Regions from separate parts of the Homo sapiens genome. Here region 2 is linked to region 1. The links are contacts of gene promoters, found by promoter capture Hi-C in human tissues and cell types (Jung and others, 2019). All regions are on one chromosome and are shown on one strand. The core of a region is centred on a gene start or on the middle of the fragment in contact, and the rest is flanking DNA. Distances in the headings are between cores, read along the strand shown. Region 1 holds the start of PPP4R1 (protein phosphatase 4 regulatory subunit 1). Region 2 has its middle 6.7 kb from the start of LINC02856.

What was found. Contacts are between HindIII fragments. The study calls those that stand out against the background at their distance.
Region 2: a fragment that was not itself captured here is called in contact with the fragment with the promoter of PPP4R1 in region 1 in 1 of the 25 tissues and cell types used here (IMR-90 fibroblasts).

What each region holds. Positions count from the first base shown.
Region 1 is chr18:9,608,579-9,615,808 of GRCh38, reverse strand. PPP4R1 (protein phosphatase 4 regulatory subunit 1) reads left to right here and starts at 1,250. Exons shown (of 20, transcript NM_001042388.3): 1 at 1,250-1,331; 2 at 1,539-1,583. The coding sequence starts at 1,325. It overlaps PPP4R1-AS1 (PPP4R1 antisense RNA 1), which reads right to left and starts at 1,002. Exons shown (of 3, transcript NR_110773.1): 1 at 795-1,002. RefSeq lists silencers at 554-1,063, 1,164-1,433, 1,534-1,783 and an enhancer at 2,054-2,133. The HindIII fragment of the contact is 9,629 bases long and covers 1-4,712 here.
Region 2 is chr18:9,649,632-9,655,976 of GRCh38, reverse strand. No RefSeq gene overlaps it. Among named protein-coding and RNA genes, the nearest start is that of LINC02856, 6.7 kb to the right of the region's middle. The HindIII fragment of the contact is 9,508 bases long and covers 1-6,279 here.

The DNA.
Region 1 (7,230 bases), core at 1-2,500:
CAACACATTGTCCTTGGTCAAGACTACAACGTAGAAAGGAACAAGCTAATTAACTACTTAGAATTCCCTCTCCTAAGAGACCACATCGCCAAAGTGGCACCATGACACAGCTTGGTGTTTTGTTGGTCACTTTAGGAGAACACCATTTTGGAGGCCTTGGGTGGAGCTGGAGATAGAGCCATGGAGGTAGAATCGTGTCGGAAAACCTGGGTTTAGCCCCATTTTGTACTTGGGCGTTTGAGCTAATCGCTTAAGTCACGTAAAACAACAAGACTAATAAAGTCTGGGATACAGACTTTAACACCTCAAGTGCTGCCAAAAGTATTTAGAAGACAAAGCGAATCATAGGCACCCTTCACCGAGCACCTCCTAGACATCAAGAACCATGCTAGGTTCCCTACATTCTTCATTTAATGCCAATAACCCCACGAGGCAGTTATCACCTTCATTCTACAAATGGGCCCCACTCCTACCAATTAACTGGCTGAATCAGGATCTGACCCCGGGCCTGCCAACGCTCCCGCTGGTGGATTGCCCGCCTTGTCAGCTCGAGTTGGCAGGACGTGGGAGTAAAAACCCGGCGCCCCAGCCTTCACCGTGCTGCACGAGGAAGCTGGCTAGGCAGGCATGACTTTGTCAGTCAACCATCCCGCAGCCGGGCCCTGGGCTTTGTTAGCAGCCACTTGGCGAGGGCCCCGGGCGGGTGGGGAGGCGGCGCTTCCTCCAAGAGGAGGTGGGACCCCGGCCCCGACGACCTCGGAGCCGCCCCCGGCCCCGGATCGCCGACGACGTACGTGCAGGCCTGGGGATGGGGCGCTGGCTGCGAGCGGCGCGCCCGCCGAGATGGCTGCGGCTGGCAGGGCGGTGGGCGAGGCCGGTGACCCAATAAAGCGGCCGGGCCGCGGGAGGCCCCGCCCGGCCGGGTTCCGGCACTCGCCGCAGGGTCCCGGCCGGCGGCAGGTTGCGCGCCCCCGTCCGCAGCGCTCGGCGTGAGGGCGGCTCGGGAGGAGGGTGTGAGCGCGCGTCGCCGGGCCGGGACCCGGCAAGCAGCGGGAAAGGCGGGAGGCGGGAGCGCCGGTCGCCCGGGAGCCGCGCGGAGGGGCAGGCGGGGCGGGGCGGGGCGCGGCCGGGGGCCCGGGCGGCCGGGAGCCGCGCCGCCCGCGGCAGGCCCGGGCCCTCGGCCCGCCCCGCGCGCGCGCCCCCGCCAGCCCGGCCCTCCTCCTCCCCGCCGCCCCTCCCGCGCGCGTCCACCGGCTCCCCGGCTCGCGCCGCTCCATGTAGCCCCGGCTCCCCGGGCGGCCGCGGAGGAGGGGGCGACCACAAGATGGCGGGTACGTGGCCCCCTGTTCTCCGGGCGGCGGCGGCTCCTCGAGCCCACCCGCCCTCCGCCGCAGCCCTGAGTGGCTGCCGGGCCGGGGCCGGCGTGGGGTCCCGGCGCGGGAAGGCGCCCCCGGGGCGGGGGGGAGGCGGGCGGGGGGGGGGCGTCGCGCCGGGCCCCGGGGCGCTGACCGGGCCTTTCTTCTCTCCCCTCGGCGCAGACCTCTCGCTGCTTCAGGAGGACCTGCAGGAGGACGCAGACGGATGTGAGTGGCCCGGCCTCGCGGTGGCCTGGCAGTCCGCGGGGAGCGGCCGGGGAGGGCGGGCGGCGGCGAGGCCTGGGCCGGGCCCTGGCTGGCTGAGGGGACGGTGGGCGAGGGCGGCCCCAGGCGGGCTGGGGTGGCGATCGGGGGGGAAAATCTCGCGTCCGTGAGGAAACGGCGCGCCCAGGTTCCGCTGGGGGAGGGAGACGCCCGGAGTAACGCCCAAGTTCGCTTTCCGCCCTTCGCTCTCTTCTCCCGGCGCCCCCGAATCGCCTGCGGGCTCAGCAGTGGCGCGGCTGTTTTGGAAGGAGAAGCGGTGGGGCAGGATTTGAAGTGGGGTTTGGGTGTGTTTCTGCCCCTGGTGTCCCCTTCCCCCGTCACTCTAGGAAGGAAGAGGCTCGCGCGGGAGGTGTGTTTCCTTAGAGTCGCTCTTCCAGGAGCGCCCGGGGGTCAGCCTGGGCCCCGGCTAGCCGTCTGGGCTCCCCGACCCGGTTTTGGATTGTTTGAGGATGACATACCTGTCATTTTACTTTGGCTGGTAGCAGTTTTCAGATGCTCCCGATTTGATTAGTGGATTACGAGAAGGTTAGAAGGTGTGGCCTCCGCAGGAATTACTAGGTTTGGAGAGCATATTTCTTTAATGCGGATGTTCAGAAATCACCCAGCCCTCCTTCAGTGTTAACAGTGCAGCTTTCCTTTGAGGTACTGAAGTTTTTAAAGAGTTGACGCTTTTATTTTTAAAAAGACAAAGTTTCTGACATTTCCTGATGGCGACGGAATTGATATTTAGAAAGGAATTTTTCGTCTTATATGTACTTTTCTAAGCCTCAGAAAATAATTTGGGTCACGATAGAAAAGACAAAAGAGTTAAGCAGGTTTGTATTGAAAGAAGTGACAAATTGCAGTTAACTTAAAATAGTTTCTATTCTTGCTAATCTTCCAAAATAGCGACCCATCAAAAAATCAATAGGTTTTGAGATGCATTTTAAAAATGCAGAGTGTGCAAAATATATAAGCGAAGATCATGGGATACATAAGGGACCAAGAAATTGTTCTGAGTTGAGATGATAACCATAGTAGGATTGTGGTCTGTTTAGTGGAAAGCCTACCGGATGCTGAGATTGACTGTCTAGTACCTGTATAAGTAATTTCAGAGATGGCTGCAGTTTGAAATTACTCTTTTAAATACTCTGTAGTTAATCCTTAGCATTGTCTAATGTGGTTCCCTTACTCAGAGTAAACTTAATTTTTAGATTCCTGGTTGTTTTGAGTAAAGTAAGGGGGATTTACTATTTAGATGGATTATCTGAAACGAGTAATTTATCTTTAAAGTAAATGAACCACATCCAAACTTTTGCTAAGTCTGTGTTTTTAGTGAGGTGGCTCAAAACAGCTCTCTTAAAGGGAGCAGTACTCATGTAGTGAAGGGCAGCTTTAACATTTTATTTAATGTTTACCTTAAGCCACTTATCTGCCTAATAGTAAGTTTGAGATATTATTTAAGGCATCTGTTGATTTCAGATCTCTTGCCAGGTTAGGATTGGAGAAATGGCCCTGATTATGTTACCTCGAGGAGGGCTTTTTATATTTATGTTCGACTTCGTAAATAGAAGATTCATTTATTCAGCAAGTATTTATGACTGGAGCAAAAACTTCTCACTCCTGAAGGATGAAATGCAGTCTCAGTTTCTTCCTTAGCCCCCAAGAAGCACAGTGTAGAGGGGAAGGCATACCTGTGAAAAATTCAACCATGAGTTTCAACACTCTGCCAGGTACTGGGGATGGAGCTTTGAGAAAGATGGGCACAACCCATGCCCTCTAGTGGTTTACAAGCAGTTTTGAATCTAGGTGTACAGTACAGTATTACAGTTACCACTGGAGCCAGGCTGCTCTGTTTGTCTTAGCAGTGTCTTTTTGGGCAGACTTGGGCAACTCACTTAACCTCCCTATGCCTCAGTTTTGTCATTTGTAAGTAGGCATAAGAAATATTACCTACTTCATAGAGTTGTTCAAGGCTGTACATGAGTTAGTGCCTCTGAAGCACTTGGAACAATTCCTGGTAAACAGCGATGATTATGATTATGTTTGCTGTTATGAGAAAAGAGCAAGGGAAGCTTAAAAGAAGAGCAGAGAAGGAAACACTGATGTTGAACCTTACAGAATGAAGGTACTTAAAGATGCTGCCAATGCTCGCAACTAAATTTTTTTTTTTTTTGAGATGGAGTTTCACTCTTGTTGCCCAGGCTGGAGTGCAAAATGGCGCGATCTCGGCTCACCGCAACCTCTGCCTCCCGGGTTCAAGTGATTCTCCTGCCTCAGCCTCCCAAGTAACTGGGATTACAGGCGTGTGCCACCACGCCTGGCTAATTTTGTACTTTTAGTAGAGACGGGGTTTCTCCATGTTGATCAGGCTGGTCTCGAACTCCCGACCTCAGGTGATCCACCTGCCTTGGCCTCCCAAAGTGCTGGGATTACAGGCGTGAGCCACTGCGCCCGGCTGCAACTAACTTTTTAAAGATTCTGTTTCCTGTGCATTTTAATTTAGGATAAAACAGACATTGAAGGCACAATAGTTATTTGCATATTCATAATTTGGTTGAAGGCTTTGTTAGAGTAATTGCTTATTTTTCTCAGTTACTAAAGTTTTTACAGGTGATACCTTTACCCAGAATATTCAGGAACAAAGGACTTTTGGACATATGGCCAGTTGAAGGACCACTTCCCATCTCTTGTGAAGGGAGAAAGAATGAGGGGGAACACTGGGCCATGGTGCCTCCTTAGAGAGCAAGATGGTTGGTAAAGGACTGAGACAGCTGTCACATCCTGGAGAAGCTGGAGAAGGTAGAGGACCCAAAGGTAGAGGAACGGAGCTTGGGCTGCCCTTATAACACGGTTGTTATCTCGTGAGCCTGAGTTTCTCTGTCTATGGTAAAACTCCAGAGTATGGAGCCCAACCTCCAGAGTAGTTGTAAACAAGTCCTACTACTTCAGCCAAGCTAGGTGTAAGTTGGCCCTTGGGATGGGAAGAAATTGTTTTCTGGTCAAGCTCTAGAATCTTGGTTGACCTTCCTAAATGCAGAACCTGGACTATGAGGGAAGAGACAGTAAGTTCTGTTGTGCAGATGATCTAGGAAAGGACCTAGCTGGAGTCTAGGACTTGAAAGAGGGGCATTGCCAGACATTGCTAAGAGTCTCAGGTCTTTCGATTTGATTTGTTTTAATCCCGTCTCTGTACAGAGGCACAGAGTCGGGGAAAAGGTTGGTCAAAGACTGACTTGACTGATAACCTTTGGAGGAAAAAAAATCCTAATGAGGGAAAAATGGATGGTATTTGTGTGTGTGTGTGTGTGTGTGTGTGTGTACACATAATTTCATTGAAGGAGTTTCATTAGAACTTAAACTTTTATCAAGTAACTTATAAAGGTAAGTAAATGAAATCATTATCAGGTACTCTTAAATTTAGGAGAATAGGCTGGGTGCAGTGGCTCATGCCTGTAATCCCAGCACTTTGGGAGGCCGAGGTGGGCGGATCACGAGGTCAGGAGATCGAGACCATCCTGGCCAACATGGTGAAATGTCTACTGAAATACAAAAAAAAATTAACTGGGCGTGGTGGCGTGCACCTGTAGTCGCAGCTGCTCAGGAGGCTGAGGCAGGGGAGTTGCTTGAACCCAGGAGGTAGAGGTTGCAGTGAGCCAAGATTGTGCTACTGCACTCCAGCCTGGCGACAGAGCAAGACTCCGTCTCAAAAAAAAAAAGTTTAGGAGAATAATGCAATAAAAACCATATGTATTTAAGTTTAAAAGTGAAACTTTCAGTACTGTATCATGAAATACTTTGAATTTCAAATTGAAAGCAAACCAGTGACTCCATTTGAACATAGGTTATCTCAGCAGATTTCAGAGTTGGGTAAACCCTTTTTAACTTTTTATATTTAATTATGTTCCTTAAATAATGGGAGACAATACAAAATTGTAGATGTTTAGAAAAAATTATTTCAGATTTCTGTTTTAGTTTCCAAAGATGCAATTTTGATTCACATTTAAGTTGGTAGATTCCTAAAATGAAATGAGACTAAGATACGGTTAAGATTTGATGAGCCAATGCTTGTAAAAATAATTTCATTGAAGGAGTTTCATTAGAACTTAAGCTTTTATCAAAGTAATATGTTGAAGAATGTTATTTTTAAAGAATGGCTATGTAACGCTTAGTTTACAGTGCCTTTCATACACAGGTTATTCTTCACAGCAGTCCTGTGATGTGTAGGCTGTGGTATTCTAATACTAATAAGTAAGTTGACTAATGCCCAAAGGGACTAAAGAAACAAAACTCCTAAGTTTAGACGGAATTTTAAGCTAGGCCTTCTGATTCTAAATATCATATTTTGAATATTTTCTTAAATGGCCCAGTTTAAAATATTGATCAACCCAAACTTGTACAGGCAATTTCTTTGAACTCGTTCTTAAAGTACCCTTGAAAATTAATCTGGGATGCTGCATGTGGTTTAGTTTACACCTGGAGAATGATAGAGAGGATGGAGCTTGGGTATAAGACAGCTTATTTAGTCGTTAACTTTTATCTCAGCTGTAACTAAGTATGACGTTGAAAAGTTTTTGAAGCTATGTTATTGAGTATGCCATACAACAGACTTTTTTCATATTTAAGTTTTGGAATCCTTTTACATTATGCTGTTTTTCGGGTTTAAGGGCGGTGTTGAAGTAGAGTGAAGGATGGGTCCAGAACTAACTGAGGGTAACCGCCTAGACCGCACTCTGTGCAGAATCTTCAGGCCTTCCTACCATGTTTCAAAACCAGTTCTGATAAGCTTAGAGTCCTTGCTTCCGGTGGGAGGTGAGGAGCAAAATATTGGGGCTGTATCTGGTAGTGGCCAGGGAATCATTCAGAAACCTTTGGAAGGTGCCCTTGAACGTGAATCATATTTAGGAGTATTGTTAAATAGGGATTTGGGAGGGTGAGTCGTGAGACCTGGTAGCCTGTTTTGACTGCTGCCAACAAGCCTGGATGGAGAGATCTTTATTTAGAGATAATATCATTGATATCTTAGAAAAGAGTGCTTTTAAAATGGTTTCAGTGGTACCCACATGTGTGTTGGATCAATTAATGATACCTCTGCTAACAACTTCCCACATAAAATTGAAAGAGAGAGAGAGAGAGACAGAGAGAAAAACCCCTTTGTAAATATGCTTGGGCCTGTAGCTACACGATCCACTGCCCTCCCCCCTCCAAAAAATAAAAAACCAAGACACCTAAATGCATACTTTTTGTTTGTTCCTGCCTGTGAAAGATAAATAGACCTCAGGAGGTAAAGTTCAGAAGTCTGCTGCCACATTTGTTTGATCTCTGGTTTATTATTTCTGGTCCTTTTCTCTCAGTCTCCTCAAAACAATGAATGTATGTTTATTAAACTATTGTTACCTTGCTCCTATGTTTGTATTACATCTTTTTTTTATATTTTGGAGTAAAAGAATTTGAAAGTTCCTAAATTTGAATTAGAGTTGTGTTGTTGTTTTTAAATTGGAGCTGAGAATAAACCTAACTTAGTGTTTTGGGCAGAAGTCTGGATGGCACACCTATGGAATTTTGGCTGAGGAGGTATTCCCTCTAATTTCTATAAGAGGGTCTGGAACTT
Region 2 (6,345 bases), core at 276-2,775, 40 kb before region 1:
CCTGATTCATGCTAGTATGTGAATACAATTATCTCTCAGTATCCATGGGAGATTGATTCCAATAGGTAACCCAAAATCTGAGGATGCTCAAGTCCCTGATATAAAATGTCGTAGTATTTGTATATAACCTATGTACACTTTATAACCTCCCGTACACTTTACGTCATCTCTAGATTACTTATAATACCTAATGCAATGCCTAGACATCACTTCATTCTCATGGAGTTAACGTAGTATTTGGTGTGGCAAATTCAAGTTTTGCTTTCTGAAAATTTTTGGAAGATTTTTCTTAAATATTTTCAATCTATGGTTGGTTGAATTCACAGATGTAGAACCCACAGATACAAAGGGCCAACTGTATATGGTAATAATAACTCCAGGCATAGTGGACTTACAAATGTCTCCATGGCAACAATTCACTCTCTGGTTTCCATGGTGAGGTTTATAAGGACCCTCAAATTTACTTTATTTAAAATTCTAAATTACTTTGCTGTTGATCAGACATACATAAAGAGCTATGTTTTAAAAATAACTCTCTAGTATTGTTTCAGGACTCCTATAAAGAAAGAAAGGAAAAAAAAGGAAATGGAAGAAAAATAATAGTAATAAATCAGTACCTCCCATGAAAGCTCCTGTTATGTGGCAATGAATTAGAATATCAAGGTCAAACACTGTAAAACTGAATTAAACAGCCCACATAATTTCTCCATCTGACTCCCATTTGTCAGAATTCATTTTTGTATTAATACAGAAAATGAATCATTGTTCAAACAGGCATCATTTTTATGAATTAAAAATGCATAAATCAACTGAATGTCCTTTATTCAGGAAACATTTCTCTTTATACGTTGTGCAGCTTACACAGATGTCTGATCACGGGAGAACTGACTGACAAAATGTTGATGAGTCAAACTGTCATTCCCCAATAGGGAGAATGCCTCACAATTAAATACAAGATTTAAGAAGATGAGTTGTAACACTAATTGTTCCTTCAGAAATGTCACAAAGGAAGCACATCATTTTTTTTCCCCTTTTGTTGCGATTTGGGAAGAACAAGGGCCTGGGAAAAGTGCTTGTACAGTCCTTCCCTCAAGCAAGGGGCCTGCATGTCATTGGGTTCTGGGACTGGTAGGCTGGGAGCAGTGAGTTTCGCCCCTCATCCTGGGATCTAGGGGGAAGGATGCACCCCTGTTTGCCCCCACTATCTTATCTGGGAGCAATTAGGACATGGCACTACCTGAGCTTCGCTGAGCACAGGATAGTGGCTTATTTTGAATGCAGCCTTAACCATTATCTTCACTGTGTTACTTTATTTTATTTTACTACATCTTATCTTGCTTATACTTTTGAAACAAAGGACTTTCATTCTTTATTATCACGGACTCTAGCCTTGCAACACGTAAGAGACATTGACCTTGTTGAAAACAACTACTGTTGGCCAGGCACAGTGGCTCACACCTGTAATCCCAGCACTTTGGGAGGCTGAGGTGGGCGGATCACAAGGTCAGGAGTTCGAGACCAGCCTGACCAACACGGTGAAACCCCGTCTCTACTAAAAATACAAAAATTAGCCGGACATGGTGGCATACGCCTGTAATCCCAGCTACTCCAGAGGCTGAGGCAGGAGAATTGCTTAAACCCAGGGGGGCGTGGAGGTTGCAGTAAGCCGAGATTATACCACTGCCCTCCAGCCTGGGCAACGGAGCAAGGCTCTGTCTCAGAAAAGCAAAGCAAAACAAAACAAAACAAAAAACTATTGTTGCAAAAGAATTATAAATGTTACCAGTGACGATTTGGAAAGAAACCAGGGTAGGTTCCATTTGGCCCCTCAAAGATCTGCTTCCGAGCCAGGTGCAGTGGCTCACAGCGGTAATCCCAGCCCTTTGGGAGGTCAAGGTGGGTGAATCACTTGAGGTCAGGAGTTTGAGACCAGCCAGGCCAACGTGGTGAAAGCCCCATCTCTACAAAAAAAAAAAAATACCCGGGTGTGGTGATGTGCACCTGTAGTTCCAGCTACTGGGGAGGCTGAAGTGGCAGAATCACTTGAGCCGAGATTGCACCACTGCACTCCAGCCTGGGCAACAGAGCCAGACCTTGTCTCAAAAAAAAAAAAAAAAAAAAAAAAACCTGCTTCCGGTCTAGTGCTCTGACACCGCCTGTATGTCTTTTAAAAATTACTCAGCATCACGAGGCCTCATTTTCTTCATCTGTAAGATAAACTGCAAAATAAATAAATAAATAAATAAATACAAGACAATTTCTAAATTCCCTTCCAGCGTTAGAATTCTTGTCTCTGCTGTCTGTCTCCTGCACCTGGCACAATGCCAGTGGCCATGTTTGTGTTGGACGCTGAGGCCACATCCCTTGGACACATGGTCTTGTGTGGCACAGCTGGTGCCCTGGGGCTGAGTGGAGAACAAGGCCAGGGTTGTGCCGGGTCAACAGCAGTGACTTCCAAGTGTATAACATTGAGTCTGTTACCCGAGAGGCAGCATCACAAGGATCAGGAGTCCACCCCAGATCAACAAGGGAGCTTCCTGGGTAGCCAGAAATCTGGAGCCTGTGGAAAAGCTAAGCTGTAAACTGATGGTGCTAGGAGCATGAGTGCTTCAGTTGCCAGTTTACTTAGACAAATTTCACTGAACAGCATCCAGTCCCTTGTATGGTTCTTATTAAATCAACCACTTCATGCTTGGGATATATTTCGCCCTGGATATTCTTAAAAACGACATTCAATCTCTAATATGCTGTGTGGCAGGTAGAATAATGGCCTCCAGAAATGTCCACATGCTAATCCCTGGAATCTGTGTATATGTTGCATGGCAAGGAAGCATTAAAGTCACAGACGGAATTAAGGTTGCCAATCAGCTGACTGTAAAACAGGAGATTATCCTGGACTATGTTGGCCTAGTGGAATCTCAAGAGTCTTTTAAAGTGGAAGGTGGGCAGATGAAACAGGTCAGAGGCAGAGGGAGACTGGAAGATGCTGCACTGCTGATTTTGAAGATAGAGGAAGGGACCACCAGCCAAGGGATGCAGGTGGCCTCCAGAAGAAGGCAAGGAGACAGATTCTCCCCTGAGCCTCCAGAGTGAGCTCAGCCCTGCCCGCACCTTGGCTTTAGCTCAGAGAGACCCATTCCAGACTTCTGGCCTCCAGAACTGTAGGAGGATAAATGCATTTTACTTTAAGCCACTATGTTTGTGGTAATTTTTAACAGAAGCAATAGGAAATTAATAGATACTGTGTATTCTAATGTCAGAGTCTAGATTACTATGATAATAAAAAATACAAACAAAAGGAAAAATATACAAATTTTTAAAAGTGAAGTAAAATAAAATGCTTCAGAGATTTACTATAATGAGTTCATTAAGATGACTGGAAATTGATACATTCAAAGCAAAAGAAATAGTAAATTAAAAATTCCAGAATAAAACTACAAAGAAATGAAATGCACGTTATTCTTGTGAGTTGAAAATGCGCAATTGTTTTTTTTCTCCTTCAGAGTCACTGTGAACTGTGAGCTCCAGTTAATCATGGAGACTTGTCAGGGGAGGGTGGGAATTATGCACCAAGCATGAAATTGGGTTGAACCTGGGAGTTGCTTAATTGCCAGATTCCGTATTCAAGGGAGAAGTCAGAAGACCAGAAGCACATGGGTAGTAAGTCCTCTGCAATGCATCTGGCCAAGCAGGTATGGGAGGTCGGATAAAGACTATGAGTCAAGAAGGAGGTCAGGCCGGCACGGTGGCTCACGCCTGTAATCCCAGCACCTTGGGAGGCTGACATGGGCAGATCACGAGGTCAGGAGATTGAGACCATCCTGGCTAACACAGTGAAACCCTGTCTCTACTAAAAATACAAAAAATTACCTAGGCGTGGTGGCGGGCACCTGTAGTCCAAGCTACTGGGGAGGCTGAGGCAGAAGAATTGCTTGAACCTAGGAGATGGAGGTTGCAGTGAGCCGAGATCATGCCACTGCACTCCAGCCTGGGCAACAGAGCAAGACTCTGTCTCAAAAAAAAAAAAAAAAAAAAAGAACCAGGTCATACAGGAGTCCTGAAGCTCAAGGTAGGGGCAGGAACTAGAAGAGGATAATGACAGCAGACAAGGGCACCCCAACAAGGACACCTTCAAAGTAAGGGAACCTCTACATCAGCCAAGATGCCTCCTGCTGAGTCAACAGCGTTCCTAGGGCACAGAGGCAGGACTGCATCAGAGGGATTAAGGAATGCCAGTGAGGTTAGTTTGGCAGGTGGGTGGGTGGGGGTCACAGCAAAGGACATATCTTGACATTTGCTTGATGATAGAATAAATGATTTTATCTATCTGATCATTTTTAAAACTTTACTTTGAAAATTGCAGACATATACCAAAGAAGTGAGATGGCCACCTTTGTCAGTATCCTCAACCACTTGCCCCCTGGGGAAACAACTCCCAGCACATCACTTCACCTGTAAATATTTCAGTATTTGTCTCTAAAAGGATTCTATTTGACCAATTTTTAGTAAAAATACCCACACTAAGTTATTTCAGCTGACCTGCTTTTCTAGTCCCTGTTCTCCAGCAATCTGATTACCTTTATCCTTTGGAAACACTATACCTGGCTAGCAGCTGAAAACCTATGCACCATCTCTACAGTCAAGCTGACATCAACACAAATTCCCATTTGCGTTGAATTTTACCACTTACAAAAGACTTACACAGACTTATATCCGTCCTCTCCGTAATGCTTGATGTCCTTTCCAACACCAACATTTCTTGCAGTCTCTTCTTCTTTTCGGGTGTAGAGATAAATGAACTAAAGTTACAGGCAGGAAAGTGAAGTTTTGCAAAGCTGTTTTCCATAGGTAGGATCACAGTCTCCAGACATCTTGTCCCTGCGCATTGTTAAACATTTGCAGGGAGCAGGGGACTATGCTAGGTATTTTATTTTATTTTTATTTTTTACTTTTATTTTTATTGTTTTGGAGATGGAGTCTCACTCTGTCACCCAGGCTGGAGTGCAGTGGCACAATCTTGGCTCACTGCAACGTCCACTTCCCAGGTTCAAGTGATTCTCCTGCCTCAGCCTCCTGAGCAGCTGGGATTATAGGCATGCACCACCACGTTCAGCTAATTTTTGTATTTTTAGTAGAGACGGGGTTTCACCATGTTGGCCAGGCTGGTCTTGAACTCCTGTCCTCAGGTGATCCACCTCGCCTACCTCGGCCTCCCAAAGTGCTGGGATTACAGGTGAGAGCTACTGTACCCAACCTATGCTAGGTGTTTTAGACATATTCTTTTATTGAAACTGCACCCTGAAATTGGCATTATTACCAACTTTTTATAAATGCGAAATCCCAGGCTTGAAAACGTGGAGTCACTTGTCCTAGATCAATTCTGGAAAATTCTGGAATACCAGCCCAGGTCCCTTTGGCTCCTATGCCTGTGCTATGATTGACTACACCAGGCCTCATGCTCACCCCAGTCTCCCTTCCTCCTCCTCTCTCCTCCCCTTTTCCCTCTACCCCAGGGACGGCAAAGGAGTTGGCTGTCGGAACCTAGTCCCTTTTCTCCCTAATACAAAACACTTGGGAGTCACCGTATTTTAGTGAAGGACAAAGAATAAATAGATGTCTGTTCTCCAAGCATTTCAAATTTTGGAGATCCAGATGTGGATTTTCTAGAAAGTTAATGAAGACTGACAAGAGTCTCTCACTTGCTGAGACCTCTGTGGGGCCCTGGGAGGAGCCCTAGCAATATGTTCACACAGACTTATATTTCTATAAAACTGGCAAAAGCTACAAAAAATTAGCCAGGCATGGTGGCGGGCGCCTGTAGTCCCAGCTACACGGGAGGCTGAGGCAGGAGAATCCCTTAAACCCGGGAGGTGGAGGTTGCAGTGAGCCAAGATCGCACCACTGCACTCCAGCCTGAGCGACAGAGCAAGACTTTGTTTAAAAAAAAAAAAAAGAAAAAAAAAAAAAAACACTGGCAAAAGCAAGAGATTTTTAAATTCCTCTTCTGAAAAGCTCCCCCACCCCCAGTTTGTGTCAGCTACAGGCCCCACAGCCCAGATCTTCCCTCACAAATCTCACCCATCACAGAAGCCTTCACTATCCTTGTGCCTTGGCTGAGACCCAAGGGGGCTGCAGCCAGGGAGGAAAGCTGGGGAGTGGGGACCCCTGCCCCTGAGCCTGGGCAGCAGGAAGCTGTGTGCATGGCTCCAAACATGAGAAAACAGCCTGAATTTTCCCACAGGAACCCTGACACAATATTTATGCATACAGTCAGGCATCACTTAATGATGGGGATTCTAAGAAATGTGTTCTAACAAATGTGTCCTGGGAGATGTTGTCATTCTG